Regions from separate parts of the Homo sapiens genome. Here region 1 is linked to region 2. The links are contacts of gene promoters, found by promoter capture Hi-C in blood cells and fetal thymus (Javierre and others, 2016). All regions are on one chromosome and are shown on one strand. Each heading gives the region's core, a stretch centred on a gene start or on the middle of the fragment in contact. The rest is flanking DNA. Distances are from core to core; before and after follow the strand shown.

Region 1 (3,233 bases), core at 514-3,013, 99 kb after region 2:
AAGTATGTTACGTATGCTAAGAGGTAATGAGTTTATTATTTTAAAAGCATAATTTTTTTTTCATTTCTCAATTTTAGTTTCCAGTATGGTATCGATAGATATAACCCACATAAATAAAAGCTCTTGAGGTCCTCAATACTTTTTAAGGTTGTAGAGAGATTCTGCAAGTAAAAAGTTTGAGAACTTCCATCTTAACAGCCCCTGTCTTTTTAGGGGGACTGATTTGAGAGAATTAGAGCCTGGCATCTTATTCTGAGCTGGCTCTCAGGGTTGTGTTATTAGTAGACAGCAATAAAGTCCTAACCAGGCAGCTCTGGCTTTATCCTTATGTCTGAAATATTTCTTTCCATGAAACAGGCATTAAGAATGACACAATATGGCCAGGCAGCACAACTTCAGGTTGAGAGCACTGGTCCCAAGCAAAAGTAATTGATCGGATCTGAAATCTAATGCCATGCAATCATGGGGCAAGTTATATACGTTTTGCATGTCCCAGCCTTTGCACGTAGCAAAGAAATACTACTACTACTTGAGAATTATATGAGAGAAGACATGTACTTAGAAAGGCTCTGCCACGTGTTGAGTGCTCAATAAATGTTAGCTATTATTGTTATCACAATCACAACACGGCCATAACGTTTTCTGCCATCAAGCAAGAGAGCCACCAAATAACTCCGCACAAAGTTATCCTTGCTCCAAATCCTCATCATTAGGGTACTGCAGGAGGGCTGGGCTGCACCTGGCCAGGCTTCCCAAGCTCAGCTGAACTTGGAATCTTCCACTCCTGGCCTTCTCTGAGGTCAGACAGTAGCCTTGAGTGCGTTTGGTGTGATATTACTCCCTAAAGTCATAATCAGGAAATGCGGGAACAATGTGTTTCTCCCACAAGGCAATCATGACAGGGCTATTTTAAACGTCAAACACAAACCTGGCGCCAGGAAAGCAACAACTGCTTACTGTGCACCTCCTGCAAGCCACCACCTCTACTTAGTGAGGCAAATGCAACCCAGTGGAGTAGAGTGCACCATTCCTTCCCTTTTCCAAAGTCTGTCTCCCACAGTCCCATCTCCTCCTTTATTCGACTCTGCTTTTGAGAAGTGCAGCCACTCCTGTGATTACCTTAAGACAGGCAGACATTTTTATTGGGTGGGGGGGGGGCAGCAGCTGCAGTTCCAGGGCTGAACTTTTAGCTTGCTATAAAGTTAATGTGCTATTCAATGTTCATTCCAGGCAAGGCTGTGGGGCTGTGTATTTTCTGCCACCCCCGGAAGGCCATTATCTGTAATTGCCCATTACCATGCATAATTATTTCTCCTAGCGTGGTCTATGACCTCCAGGGTTGCTGGATGTTTTAGCAACCTGCTCCACCTAACCAAATTTGTGAAGGAAGCTTTTCTGACCTCCAGTACTTTAATGGTATATTCCAAAGCCAACCATGGGTCATTGTACAGGCACACTTATCCAGAATCAGGAATATTTCAGATCTCTTCCAGGTGTACTTTTCTCACCTCCATGGACTTTTACCTTCCCTAAAATAAAGGAAAAATAATCAACTCTCCATTGTGTGGGAGCTGATAACCCAAACTGGGAATTATCTGGAGCCCTTTATACTCCCTTTGCTTTGATTCTGCTGTTTAATTGTATCGTGCTTTTTAAAGACTGCTACTGGGAAAGTGAACAGAGACACAGAGAAACTTTACATCTTAAATTCAATATATACAATTCCATATTTAGCTTCTTTTTTTGGAATGGGAGGAGGAGTTCTGTTCAAATTAGTGACTGAAATGAGATGTGCAGATTCCCTATGGATTCAAAATATTAATGCTAGAATTGACATCTAGTGCTACATCAAAAAGTGCAGCTTTACATTTAGCTTGCTTTTCAACATAAATAGCAGGGAAAGAAAAGGTGCAAACAGGGTTGCTGGCCATACATGTGCCCACCAAATGCTTAGCCACTTGCTGGCATTTCTTTGTCTCCTCTACCATCGCCTCCTTCAGAACCCTTACTGCACCCTCCAGGGGGGTGAGACATACCTCTAAGGTATTACACGGTTCAAAACCTGTTCAGCAGAGTGTATGTATATCCTGGGAACGAGACCACTCAATTTTTTTATTCCTTTGGAATAAAGCTTCTTTGACATTAAAAGAAGGTGATTCTACAAATAAAAATTCATCCATTCTTTCAACCATCATTTTTACCAAAGTCAGGGAAGGTGAACCACAGAGAATTAAATCCAATAGCCTTTCACAGAATGTGACCACAGAGAAGTCCTTGGAGGTAATTTCATCCCTTGTTTCTACACCCAGAGAGGTTCAAGTGGCAAGTCTGAGGACACACATGTAACTGGAAGTGGGACCATGGCTGAGGCAGCCTCTTCTGAGCAAGTCTGAGGACACACATGTAACTGGAAGTGGGACCATGGCTGAGGCAGCCTCTTCTGAGACCTCACACTTGTCTACCATGCCGTGTCAGAAGGGGAAAAGGGAGCCGTGGAGTCTGGCTGATAGACATTCTCAGACACCTGTTACCTGGGCACAGTGGTCATGCCTGTAATCTCAGCACTTCAAGAGGCCAAGGCGGGAGGATTGCTTGAGGTCAGAAGTTCCAGACCAACCTGAGCAACATGGCGAGACCCCATCTCTACAAAACATTTTAAAATAGCTGGGCATAGTGGCACGAGCCTATAGACCCAGCTACTCAGGAGGCTGAGTGGGGAAGGATCACTTGAGCTCAGGAGGTGGGGGTTGTAGTCAGCTATGATTTCACCACTGCACTCCAGACTGGATGATAGGGCAAGACTCTGTCTCAATAGATTAAAAAAAAAAAAGCCTATTGACGAGGAGTCAACCTAGCAGTTTCCTGGAAAAGAATATAAATGACTACTAACTTTAAGCACTCACATGGGAGTGTGTCAAGCAAAGAGGTCAAGTTCTTAAGCTCCAAAGACAGACTGTGATGGTCTAGGCCTTTTCCCCTTTTCAGCAGGGAATGTCAGGTAAGGCAGTGGCTGAGAGTCATGATTTGGCCCCAGGTCACTTCCCACTGGCCCAAAGCCCCTGACTTGTGGCTCTTCTACCTTATCCTGGAAGCAGCTCCCTCTAAATTCTGGCTTCTTGTTCAGCTCTGTACTTGGAAACTGCAGCCTCACTGCCAGCTGCTGCTAACCTAACTATGTTGTGCTGTTCTCAAAGGATATACACAAGCTACTCGGAACCAGGTAAGAAGACCTG
Region 2 (3,185 bases), core at 659-3,158:
TACCGTCTTTAGGGAGTTGGCAGGTCAGTGTAGGTACCAGTTTTGCCACAGTTCTACTTACAGGAGGGCTCTGGACCTTCCCACTCCTAATTCCAGCATGCCCCCTTCCGGGAGAAGGTGGGCTGTGTTCCTTTGCACATTTGCCCCAGTTAAGGAGAAACACCAAACACATATCCACTGAATTCCAAGAGCCATCAAAAGAGCTCTTGAGCTGGGCAGAACCGCAAGCTAGAAATTCCCCAGGAAGAGAGAGACTAAGAGACTCAACTCAGGCCTGCCAAGCTCAGGAGGCCTGGATGGAAACGGATGGGTGGTGGGGGATCAGATTTTTTGTATTCCTTTAAACCACGAAGACAGCTGAGGGCAGCCTGGGGAACAGTGTTAAAGGATCTAGGAGGTTCTGCAAAGGAGTGAATTCTGGGCGCATCAGATTCTTTTCCCGCTATCAGCTCACAAGCCTTTCCGGACCCTTTTACTATCATTGCTAAATGGAACTTATTTCACCAGTTACAAGAGTCTGGAGGCCACGGAGCAAAGCTAGAAAGGCCAGGGTTCTGAGAGTTGGATACTTGTCCTCACTCAAATTTTCCTGGGCCCTGGGCAGGGCCGGGCCGGCCGAGAAGCACAGCCAGCTCGACTCAGCCGAGTGTTGGCCTTGGCTCCTTCCCTACACCTACCTACCCATTCCAACCCCCAAATGGCAAGGACCTCTAAAGCCTGCAGCCAGGAAAATCCGACCCCACCGTAGTGAGTGTGCGCACGTGGGTTTTAATTTTGTCCTGTCTCAACTCCGTTGTCTCCCTGCTCAATCTGACACGTTCCGAACCCTTCAACCTGGGAAGGCACCTGGCGATACTGACGCACAGTCCCGTCGTTTGGCTGCCCGGAGGCGCCTTCCCTGCGGGCGCGAGTGCCACTCGCGCTGGGTCCAGACTCAGCCGGCTTCTCCCGGGAGAGGAAGCCCCGGCCTGGCGGAGAGTAGGAAGGAAAGCCCCGACAGGCCCACGTCCCAAAACTTTGCCTCCAGTCCTCCCAAGTGGAGCTGCAGCTGGCACTCCGAAGTTGCCCCCGCGCCCGGCCAAACTCCCGCACCTCAGACGCTCTTACCTGGCTTGGCGAGCTGCGCCTGCAGAGCCCCGGGCTGCGGCTCGGCAGTCCAACGCAGCGCGGCGGCCGCGGCCAACTCGGCAGCAGGGCGCGGCGGCTGCGGCTGCGACGGCTGAGAGGCTGGCGGCGGCTGCGGGGCGGCGACGGCGTCCCCCGGCGGCGGGGGCCCTGGCAGAGCGCGCAGCGAGTCGGGGATGAGGCTCTCCAAGCTCTCGTTGGCCTGCTGCCGGCGCAGCGCCACCTGCGCAGCCATGACCCGCTGCCGCTCGATGATGAGGATGCACTTCTCGCAGGTGCAGTCCTTGAAGCGGCAGTAACGCTTGTGGCCCTTGAGCCAGGACAGGACGCCATGGTTGCGGCAGCGCGCGCACTTGGGCGTGCGCTGCAGGGGCGCCCGTGGCGGCTGCGACACCGGGCCGCCCATGTACAGGTAGGGGGAGCCGTAGCCGTTCATGCCCCGGGCTCCCGAATGAGTTGGCAGCCTGGCTGCGGGAGAGGGCCAGGGAGCGCTGGACGGCGGGGCTGCGAGGCCCGCTCAGGGGCGGCCTCCGGGCGACGCGGCCCTTGGTCCCGCAGCCCCGGTGGTCGTGTGTGCTCCGGGGCGGCCGGAGGTGCCGCAGTCGTCTCTCCAGCTCCCTTCGCGCTCACAGCTCGGCCTCCCAGCTCACGCCCAGCCAACGCCGACGCGGGCCTCTGCCTTGGGCGCGCAGCCGGGTCGGCACGTCCTCCTTCGCGGAGGCGCTGCGGCGGCTGCAAGGAGCCGGCGACAGCTCTGATTAAGGTCTGAGCCAGCTCTTCTGCAGCTCCCTCGTGAGCCGGCCGGACCCAACACCTCCGCCGCCCTCCCCCAACCCCTCCTCCTTCCCACCGCCACCCCCGCCCCTGGGGTCCCTGTCTCCTTGCACTCCCCGCCCCACGCCTTCCTCCTCCTTTGCGCCCCTCGGGTGCCTGCACTTCACCTTCCTTGCCACCTGCAGCCAGGCCACTCTCGCGGGGGCGCTCGCGGCCCCCTCCTCCAAGCCCTCTCCGCTACCCCAGCCCGCGGCTGGAGACTGCGGCGCTCCAGAACGCGGCGGTGCTCGCGGGGCGGAGAAGGGGAGGACCAGCGGGAGTGAGGGTGGGGGTGCCTGTAAGCGAGTGAGGTGGCCGCTCCGCTTCTCTCTCTTCTCCTCCCTCCAGTCCAGATCTGGCCGCGTTTTTCCGAGCCCAAGGCCGCTTTTATCCCGACATTTGGCCGCAGAAGCTCAGCTCCGGGAGAACTCGAACCTACGGGAGTGTTGCGGTTGCACCCCGGACCTGGGTGGAGTTTAGGATAGGGGAGTGAAGTGATGTTGGTTTAGGAAAGTTAGGCTCTTTTCGTAATTTCCTTTTAGAACGTATTTTTTTCTCTTTTGTTGCTTTAGAAGAAAATGGTTTTGGAGATCTGCCGGCCCAAGGATGACAAGCCATTTTGCAGGCGAATTTTACTTTTCTACCCTCCTGTCCATGTTTTAATATAAAACAGTATCCTGAAAGGTCAGGGACGTACGTGCTCCTGTAAAGGATTTGTTAAGCGCCGGGTATAAACTTTCAAGGGGCAGACACAGAAGCCACATTGGCGCCCCCAAAGTTACCGATATCCTCTTCCCTCGCTCCCAGCAGCTACTGGAAGCAAACGGAGGTCTTGCGCCAGCCACTCAGTTCAAATCCCCACGGATTCTGTGATTCAGTTATGGATATGGGATGGGGCCACTTTTTCACCTCCTTAACCCATAGACCCCAGTCATAGATGTCTTGGGGGAGAGGGTCCTTCACAAGATGACAGCAGAAAACTTTGTTTAGATTATTTGCGTGTTCCCATTCTCCCAGGAGTAGCGGGCTTGGCCTAGTGCAGACTATCGCTATATATGCACAAAGAAGGCCCTCCACCCTCGCACCTCCCCACTGCCCATCAGCAAACAAGCAAAAACCAAAAAACAAACAAACAAACAAAACAAGTGGATACACTGCAGGGCAGCACAATAGCTCTATGCGAAGCGGGGCAGTTCCAGAGCCTTCGGTGGATGCGCTTCTGAGAGCGTGCACCAAGCCCATCTCCT

What was found. The method cuts DNA at HindIII sites, captures the fragments that hold promoters and counts their contacts. A CHiCAGO score of 5 or more calls a contact.
Region 1: a fragment that was not itself captured here is called in contact with the fragment with the promoter of DMRT3 in region 2 in 1 of 17 cell types (monocytes); the score reaches 5.2 in monocytes.

The regions. Positions count from the first base shown.
Region 1 is chr9:876,126-879,358 of GRCh38, reverse strand. All of the region lies in intron 2 of DMRT1 (doublesex and mab-3 related transcription factor 1), which reads right to left. Among named protein-coding and RNA genes, the nearest start is that of DMRT1, 36 kb to the right of the region's middle. The HindIII fragment of the contact is 741 bases long and covers 1,393-2,133 here.
Region 2 is chr9:975,378-978,562 of GRCh38, reverse strand. DMRT3 (doublesex and mab-3 related transcription factor 3) reads right to left here and starts at 1,908. Exons shown (of 2, transcript NM_021240.4): 1 at 1,108-1,908. The coding sequence starts at 1,561. RefSeq lists enhancers at 1,741-2,240, 2,241-2,742. The HindIII fragment of the contact is 15,659 bases long and covers 1-3,185 here.